Regions from separate parts of the Homo sapiens genome. Here all the other regions are linked to region 2. The links are contacts of gene promoters, found by promoter capture Hi-C in human tissues and cell types (Jung and others, 2019). All regions are on one chromosome and are shown on one strand. Each heading gives the region's core, a stretch centred on a gene start or on the middle of the fragment in contact. The rest is flanking DNA. Distances are from core to core; before and after follow the strand shown. Region 1 overlaps MCM3AP (minichromosome maintenance complex component 3 associated protein). Region 2 holds the start of ITGB2 (integrin subunit beta 2). Region 3 holds the start of AGPAT3 (1-acylglycerol-3-phosphate O-acyltransferase 3).

Region 1 (3,043 bases), core at 544-3,043, 1.3 Mb after region 2:
ATTAGCCGAGCATGGTGGCGCACGCCTGTAGTCCCAGCTACTCAGGAGGCTGAGGCAGAAGAATCACTTGAACCTGGGAGGTGGAGGTTGCAGTGAGCTGTGATTGCGCCACTGCACTCCAGCCTGGGCGACAGAGTGAGACTCCATCTCAAAAAAAAAAAAAAAAAGAGCCACATGAAAGTCCATCAACAGAAGACCAGGAAGGTCATTTATGGTACATTATCGCACTGACCTCAAGACCACTGGCAACGGGGACAGCTCAGCATGCTGCTACAGCCAAGCCTCCACCTCATATCAGATGGAGCAAAGGAAGGCTCAGAGCAAAGCAGGGATCATGAGCCCATCTGTGCCAAGAGCCACAAGAAAGGACAGAAAGTCTCTGGATGGTTTCGCAAGCAGCTGCTGCTCGCACAATGGACAGGGGTCTGTTGTAGAAGGAAGACTCACTTCTCCCCATACTCCCTTTTATACTGTTCCAACTACCAAGGACACTATTACTGATTTTAAATTTTATTATGAAATGAATCATACAACATACGTAACACATATATGCCCAGTTATAAGATTAATAAATCATCAAGCACCTGTGCACTTACACCCAGTTGAGAAGTTGTGGCCATGAGAGGCACCACCTCCCATTCCCAAAAGTAACCACTATGCTGAGATTATGATCATTATTTTCCTTCTTTTCTTTAGGGTTATACCACTATATATAAATCTGAAACAACCTATTTAGTTTGAATATACACTATTTGTATATTCCCTATTAATTGCTTTTTCTCCACTACTTATATTTTGAGAATTCACCCTTATTGGTGCATGCAGCCATAATCTGGCTTGTTCATAGCTGTCTCCCAGCACCTAGTGCAGTGGGCAAATGGCAGGCACCCTATAAATATCAGTTGACATACAGAGTAGCCACCACGTCCCAATCTAACTCCTGACTTTTCCCCTTATATTGTATGTGTGTGTGTGTGTGTGTGTAATCAAGTATTTCTGAAATGCAGTATAATCCAATTAGTCTATTTTAGGTATTCATTGCTATAACATTTTCCCTCATCCTTTTACCACTGAATACAGAAACTAATAGCTCATATATTTTGAATTTGTTAAAAGACTCTTCCCCGTGTGTGTGGATTTTGCCTGTAGGAACACAGGACTCACCGCTGTAGATACTTGCAGAAGCACTGAAGCTCCTGGAGGGTCTCCTTTGCAGTCTGGAAGATTTCCTCCACGAGAAACAAGTCCACTAAGTGGGCACAGACATCCTCACAGCAACGGGCCACACGGACCCTCTGGTCTGTCTCTACTGCATTCCTAGAAACAGGGCAATCAGCATGGAAGACACTGCACTTGGGGCCCACAGACACTGAGGGCTTGCTTGAAAAGTGCAAGAGTCAGTCAGGCGCGGTGGCTCACGCCTGTAATCCCAGCACTTTGGAAGGCCGAAGCGGGTGGATCATGAGGTCAAGAGATCCAGACCATCCTGGCTAACATGGTGAAACCCTGTCTCTACTAAAAATACAAAAAAATTAGCCTGGTGTGGTGGCGGGCGCCTGTAGTCCCAGCTACTCGGGAGGCTGAAGCAGGAGAATGACGTGAAGCCGGGAGGCAGAGCTTGCAGTGAGCAGAGATCGCGCCACTGCACTCCAGCCTGGACGACAGAGCGAGACTCCGTCTCAAAAAAAAAAAAAAAAGAAAAGTGCAAGAGTCGGCCAGGCACAGTGGCTTACACCTGTAATCCTAGCTCTTTGCGAGGCCAAAGCAGGCAAATCACTTCAGGTCAGGAGTTCGAAACCAGCTTGGCCATCATGGTAGAACCCCGTCTCTACTAAAAATACAAAAAATTAGCTGGCGGCCAGGCACGGTGGCTCATGCCTGTAATCCCAGCACTTTGGGAGGCCAGGGCAGGCGGATCACGAGGTCAGGAGATCGAGACTATCCTGGCTAACACGGTGAAACCCCGTCTCTACTAAAAATATGAAAAATTAGCCAGGCATATTGGCAGGCTCCTGTAGTCCCAGCTACTCAGGAGGCTGAGAATGGCGTGAACCCGGGAGGCGGAGCTTGCAGTGAGCCGAGATGGCACCACTGCACTCCAGCTTGGGTAACAGAGTAAAACTCCATTTCAAAAAAAAAAAAAAAAAAAAAATTAGCTGGGCATGGCGGTGCATGCCTGTAATTCCAGCTACTTGGGAGGCTGAGCTAGGAGAATCGCTTGAACCCAGGAGGCAGAGGTTGCAGTGAACCCAGATCACGCCACTGCACTCCAGTGTGGGCGACAGAGCAAGACTCCGTCTTTAAAAAAAAAAAGTGCAAGAGTCTGCATCCTCAGTATTAAAATGTAATTCTATCTTCATTGTAAAAGAAGCTTTAATACTTAAACTACAGACACCTAGAAAGACAGGGTAAAAAGAATTAAGTGGAACAGGGTGCCAAATTATAGGTCCATAGGGGCCCTCGTAACAGTTAAGAAATAAACCTTTATCTTAATAAAATAGTCAGAATTTTTAATTATTTTAGAGACAGGGTCTCACTATGTTGCCCAGGCTGGAGTACAGTGGCCACCACAGGTGCAGTCATAGCACACTACCTGGAACTTCTGAGCTTAAGTGATCTTTGCACCTCAGTCTCTTGAGTTGCTGGGACTACAGGTGCCTGGCGTAGAATTTGTAAATTACCATGCAGACAACCACAAAATCTTCTCATCAGCAACATCTGACTTGTGCAATCAATTGGAAGTGTCTCAAATATATGATAAATGCCAGTGGCTAATAAGGATGGCTGACTATGATCATGTGGTGGCAGCCCTCATATAAAAGAGAATTTTTTATAATAAAATTCTATTAGCCAAGGGAGCACAGAGGACTGCATCAAATACATTTGGTCACAAAATCAAAGTAGCTTAGACAGGCAAGATCCATTTCCAATAGCCCATCCTCAGTGGTGCAAGACACAGCCTAGGGCAGAGCCAAAGCTCACTCTCCTGGCACAGCAAGACACCAGCGTTTCACTTACTTCAACTCCTGGGAGCAGGTTTCCC
Region 2 (2,743 bases), core at 49-2,548:
ACCCGCAGGCGTTGCGCCACCGTCACGGGGAAGGCGAGTGACAGCGAGTGTCCCCTATGCCCCCACAGCTCGCTCCCAGGCTGAGCTCTCCGGCCATCCCCCCCCTTCCCCATTGCAGCCATGCCACCCCTCCTTCTCCCCACCCAGGAACTGACAGAGGAGAGGGGCCCCGGATGGACAGGGACAGCAGGGCAGAATCCCAGCTCCCAGATCCAGGGGAGGGGGGATTGGGTGTGGGGACGGTGGTGCAAGGGGTGGTGCCAGGGGTGGAGGATGCATGGGGAGGGCTGGCCCCAAGAGTGCAGTGTTGGGGGAAGGGGGCCAGGTGGGCCTGGGACCCAGGGGCGTGGCTTCAATCCCCCTCCCACCAGGACCTTGGGAATGGCCTCCAGGAGCCTGTTGTGGGGAGGCCAGGGTCACCAGCTGAACCAACTCGACCAGAATCGCACAGCGGTGCCCGCTCCCCTACAGCAAGACGTCACCCAGGGGTCCCCACGGAGGAGGCAGGGAAGCTCGAGGGTCCCAGAGGAGCATGGAGCATGTGCCACACCACACCACACTACATTACACATGTGCACCATACATGTACATACAACAGACTCCCCACATCACATGCGCACACTCGCACACCATACATGCACACACACACACCACACTACGCTATGCCACACACGTGCACCATACATGCACACCATGCCACACTACACACACGACACTACACACCACGAACCACACCACACCATATCACACACCACACACTGCGAGTCGATCTGGAGATGGAATCGCTGTAGCCAGGCGGGGCAGCATGCAGACAGGAGGGCCTAACACAGGCAGGCGCAGCAGGTTCACAGAGGAGGCCCCGGGAACCTGCCTCCTGCCCAGCCCGGAGCACCAGGACCCCCCAGCCGTCCCCCTAGGGGCTTGTGGGCCCAGCCTCTTCCTGGCCTTGCCGGCCTCACAGCCCCTTGTCCTCCCATGCCGGCCCCATCCTCAGCCGCAAGCGCTCCCAGCACACCATGTGGCTCTGCTCTTGGTGGCAGGCACTTCCCCTTGCCGGGTCTCAAAGGGGACCCTGGAGCAGACGGTCTGGAGACCCCTTCCTGCCAGACACCCCTGGGCCGGGGCTATAAGCAGGGCCACCAGGGTCACTCCAGGCTGGGGCAGGAGAGTGCTTCCCTCCAAAAATCACCGTGGACATAGCGGGGCCTCTGCACACTCACCCTCGGTGTGCTGGAGTCCTCGGCGGTGCTCCTGGCTGGGCGTGGGGGCTTTGCTACCAGTCTGCCCTGGGTCACGTCTAGAAACCTCAGCTGGAGGCGCGGGTCGTAAAGTCCTGACACTTCCTGTTCCTCTCAGCTCCTCCTTGGAGGAAGTGGTGGGTTGCACCACCGTGGCCCTTCACCCCTGCCCCTCTCCGCTCTACAGCAGCTCTGATGTCAGAGAGCGGCCCCTTGAGACAGGTGGGACATGTCATTTCTCACATGAGGTCCCGGCGAGAAGGACCTGCTTCCATCAGATTCACACTTGGGAGAGGGGCCCGGCCTCCAGGAGCGCCAGGCAGAAAGGGCACCCATTAGGAAGAAGAACACAGAGGCCATGGGAGTGAAAAGTTTGATGCTGGAAAGCAACAGTAGCACATTCTGCTACAGAGCGGAATGAAAAACCCTGGGGAGCAAATTCCTGAGCCAGAGAATGGAGCGGAGGAACCAGCCAAGGAGGATAAAGAGGTGGGAACAGGCAAGAAAACCTGGGTGCGTGCACGCATTGACATCCACCTGCATGTGAGGGCGGGAGGGGACAGAACAGGGACAGCGAGGAGGAGACACTCAGGTCACAGGAGGAAGGCTGCGGATCTGGGCGGGGACGTGGATTGCGAGGCCACTGAACACCCCAGGGATGGATGGATGAGGTCCTGTTAACTAGGGACATTAGGAGGATACCACAGAACACGAAAGGGAAAATACTACAGGCTCAGAGAGAGAGAGAAGGGAGAGGAGGAGGAGGAGGAAGAGGAGGGAAAGAGATTATACCTAGAAAAAAAACCCAAATCAGACATCTTCAGAGCAAGGACTCAGACACATTACTACCCTAAACTCTGTTTTATTTATTTATTTATTTTTATGTTTTCAGTTTTTTTTGAGACAGAGTTTTGCTTTTGTCACCCAGGCTGGAGTGCAGTGGCGTGATCTCAGCTCACTGCAACCTCTGCCTCCCGGGTTCAAGCAATTCTCCTGCCTCAGCCTCCCAAGTAGCTGGGATTACAGGCACATGTACCACCACGCCTGGGTAATTTTTGTATTCTTAGTAGAGACAGGGTTTCACTATGTTGACCAGGCTGGTCTTGAACTCCTGGCTTCAAGTGATCCATCCACCTCTGCCTTCCAAAGTGCTGGGATTACTGGCGTGAGCCATGGCTCCCGGCTCCTAAACTCTGTTTTAAAGATGTCTTGCAGAAATAGACATGAAGAAATCCATGAGAAATACAAGAGCAGATGATACAAAGTTGGGCAAAGAAATAAGTAAAAATTATGATGTCATAACCTGTTGATTTAAAAAATAGTGGTAAGAATATTAACGCTGTGAAACAAAACGCCTAGAGGACTGGGTTGGGAGGGGCCAGGGAGCACATTGCCGTTCCATCCTATCTGGGGAGGAATATAGATGCTTGTCAGTGGGCATTTTGATAGAAAATATCTAAGTATATATGCTAACAATTCAAGAGTCTCCTTAAGAATAAAAATAG
Region 3 (3,038 bases), core at 31-2,530, 1.1 Mb before region 2:
CAAAAAAAATTTTTTTTAAATTAGCCAGACATGGTGGTGTGTGCCTGTGGTCCCAGCTACTTGGGAGGCTGAGGTGGGAGGATCACTTGAGCCCTGGAGTTCAAGGCTTCAGCGAGCTATGATTGTACCACTGCACTCCAGGGTGGGCGACAGAGCAAGACCCTGTCTCAATAATAATAAAAATAAAAAAAAAAAAAAGGAAAAAAAGGGGCACAGTAGACAGTACCAGTACTTGGTATTTTAAATGGTTTTCAAATGAAGCCCACCCAAGCTCAGCAAGTCCAGCCGGGGCCTGAGGACCTGAGCAGGCGCCAGGTCACACAAGGTACCGGGCGCAGGAGGCGGAGCCCGCAGCGGGCCCTGCCCTGACAGCGGCACCTGCGCGGCCTCCGCAGGTTCTGGGATCGGCCGCTGGCCAGGTGCAAGGGAGGGGGGACGGCAGCCGCTGTCCTGGGGCTGAGAGGGCTCCGCGGTCTGGAGGGGACGGCGTCAGCGCCCGCGGGGGTTCGCAGGGCAGCCCCGGGGCGACCCCCACCCCCGCCACGGTCAAGTGTCGATACAGTGTTGCCAGCCGGGTGCCAACTATGAATAAGTCCAAGGGCGCGGCACGTGGGCCGAAACGCGATCCTTCCGCGGAGCCGCTGCGCGCAGGGCCGTCCCCACCGAGCCCGCCGCGCGGCGACCCCTGACGGCGACCCTAAGCCCCGGCCGACCAGGGCAGGAGCTCGCGCGCGAAACTTCCCCGGCGCCCGCAGGAGACCCCGGCAGGGGAGATGGCGGGGCCCAGGCAGAGCTCGGAGGCCCCTCCCGGCCCCACCCCGCGCCCCGGCCCCCTCTGCCCCCGACCCGGTCCGGGGGAGCCCTCGCGGGACCCCAGCCTGGTCCTTCGCCGCCTCCCCCCGTTCAGCCCCGACCCCCCTGATCCCCGCGCCCCCCGCGGTCCCGGCCCGCCCCCTCCCCCAGCCCGGGCCCCAGCCCCGTCCGTTAGCGGATCCCACGCAGGCTCCGCGCCCGGCCCCGCCGGCGCCCTCGGCCCACACCTCTCTCCGCGCGCGTGTCCCGCCGTGTCGCCCCCGTGTCCCCTCCGCGTCCCCCCCCGCGCCGTCCCCCCGCGTCCCCCCCCGCGTCCTTCCCCCGTGTCCCCCCAGCGTGTCCCTCGGCCGCCCCGCGCGCGCCGGCGGAACTGTGGGATCGCCGCGCACAGGAAGTGGCGGCGGCGGCGCGGCCGAGGGCGGAGGGCGGAGGGCGGCGGGATGGGGGCCGGGGGCGGCGGGCGCCGCACTCGCTGAGGCCCCGACGCAGGGCCGGGCCGGGCCCAGGGCCGAGGAGCGCGGCGGCCAGAGCGGGGCCGCGGAGGCGACGCCGGGGACGCCCGCGCGACGAGCAGGTGGCGGCGGCTGCAGGTGAGCACCGAGGCCCCCACCCGAGGTCGGGCCGCCCCCCTCTTCCCCCACGCCCCGCCGCCGCCCGAGGTCGCCCTCCCGCCGCCGGAGGTCGCCCCTGCCCCAGCCGTCCGACCTCGGGCCGCCCGGGGCCCCGCGCCGCAATGGGCCGGCCGCGCTCCGCGGGGCGCGGGGCCTGGGAAGGCGCGGGGCCGGGAGGAGGTCTGGGCCCGGGTCCTGTGCGCCCCCCGCAACCCCGGCCTCCCCGGCGGCCTGGTCCAGCGCGAGGCCCCGGCCGCTTCCCGCAGCAGCCTCGGTGGCGCTGGGCCCAGCGGGGAGGCCCGGGGGTTCGGGGCGCCCGGGAGGGGCCCGGGCCGGGCCGAGGGAGGGCGAGTGGGTTCCCGCGGGGACGTCCCATCCCTCCGTCCTGGACTCTGCTCCGGGCCCCGCTCGGCTCCCCCGTGGACAGGACGCGCCCGCCGCCTGGTTTCGGGGCGCGGCGGACCCGGGACCCCCCCCAGGGGCCTCCTCCTCGCGCGCCCAGGCCAAGGGAGCAGTTTCACTTTTGCCGCTCCGCGCGGGGAGGGCTGCGGGGCCCGGGGTTGGCTGTGGGTTCGGCCCGGAGACCGGCGGCGCGTTTGCACCGGGCGGGTCAGGGGATGGGGTCAGTCCGGGGGCAAGAGCCGTGGGGGCGAAAACCCACTCCTGGCCACCCCAGGACCCTTGGAACATTGGTCCCAAGTACTTAGGAAAGGAGGGTTATTAGTATTTGAAGGCAGTTAAAAATGGTGCAGTGTTTTTTTTTTTTTTTTTAACTTTGAGAGAAGTTTAGTGACATGGGGAAAATGCTTTTATAAATGGCTTCCCAGACCTTTAAAAAAAAAAAAGCACAATTTTAAAAGCTTTGTCTAGGAGAATACTTGAGCAGTTGGGTTCTTTTTCCTGGGAAACATGATCTTAGTAGAAGAAAGATGTGGGCTGTTGGCCTCCAGACAGAGGGTGATGAGCATGCGGCTCTTATTAAAAATGAAAGCCAACGCCGAGAGCCTGCTGGGGGCTGGGAGGTGGGGCGGGCGGCGGGCCCAGGCTGCTAGAGGGACCCAGGATCCTGCAGCTTTTAAATTGCAGGCGCGGCTGCTCCGACTCGACTCGCTTAGGAATTGCTGAACTTCGTCTTCTCAGTTTGAAAGCTTCAGAGGGGTCTCCCGAGGATGCTGAGCACTCTCTTGATTTGGCCACTTCTTTGCCGCCCCCCCTCCCTCTTTCCAACCAATCCTCCTCCCCCACAGAGTTCGGCGTTAGCCTGTGCCTGTTACAACTCGCTTCTTGTATCCATTTCTGGTTAGTCTTAAGTATCTTCTTGAGGACATTGTCTAAAAAGCAGCTGCATGCCATTGACATTCAGACAGAACAGGGCCCCTTGGCCTTAGAAGGTGTAGGGGCCTTAAATATTCTGAAGGTGACTTCATGGAGTGGCCGCCCTCTGTGGTCACCCTACCTGTGCGTGGCCCTGTCCTGGCGTATCTGCCAGGGGGACGCGCTGCAGCAGCCTGAAGACTGCTGGGTTAAAGGCAGTGTGGCCGGGTGGGAAAGTCCCCAGGAGTGTGGATTCTAGAACAGGCCTTCCTGGAGGGAGGGTGCTGCCCCGCCCCAGGC

What was found. Contacts are between HindIII fragments. The study calls those that stand out against the background at their distance.
Region 1: a contact is called between a fragment that was not itself captured here and the fragment with the promoter of ITGB2 in region 2, in 1 of the 25 tissues and cell types used here (heart right ventricle).
Region 3: the fragment with the promoter of AGPAT3 here is called in contact with the fragment with the promoter of ITGB2 in region 2 in 1 of the 25 tissues and cell types used here (spleen).

Annotation. Positions count from the first base shown.
Region 1 is chr21:46,257,775-46,260,817 of GRCh38, forward strand. MCM3AP (minichromosome maintenance complex component 3 associated protein) reads right to left here. Exons shown (of 28, transcript NM_003906.5): 15 at 3,019-3,043; 16 at 1,165-1,317. Among named protein-coding and RNA genes, the nearest start is that of MCM3AP, 26 kb to the right of the region's middle. The HindIII fragment of the contact is 8,306 bases long and covers 1-3,043 here.
Region 2 is chr21:44,919,601-44,922,343 of GRCh38, forward strand. It overlaps ITGB2 (integrin subunit beta 2), which reads right to left and starts at 1,299. Exons shown (of 16, transcript NM_000211.5): 1 at 1,221-1,299. It overlaps ITGB2-AS1 (ITGB2 antisense RNA 1), which reads left to right and starts at 1,435. Exons shown (of 3, transcript NR_038316.1): 1 at 1,435-1,727. The HindIII fragment of the contact is 46,650 bases long and covers 1-2,743 here.
Region 3 is chr21:43,863,943-43,866,980 of GRCh38, forward strand. It overlaps AGPAT3 (1-acylglycerol-3-phosphate O-acyltransferase 3), which reads left to right and starts at 1,281. Exons shown (of 10, transcript NM_020132.5): 1 at 1,281-1,403. RefSeq lists silencers at 340-699, 1,250-1,599, 1,720-2,039. The HindIII fragment of the contact is 11,781 bases long and covers 1-3,038 here.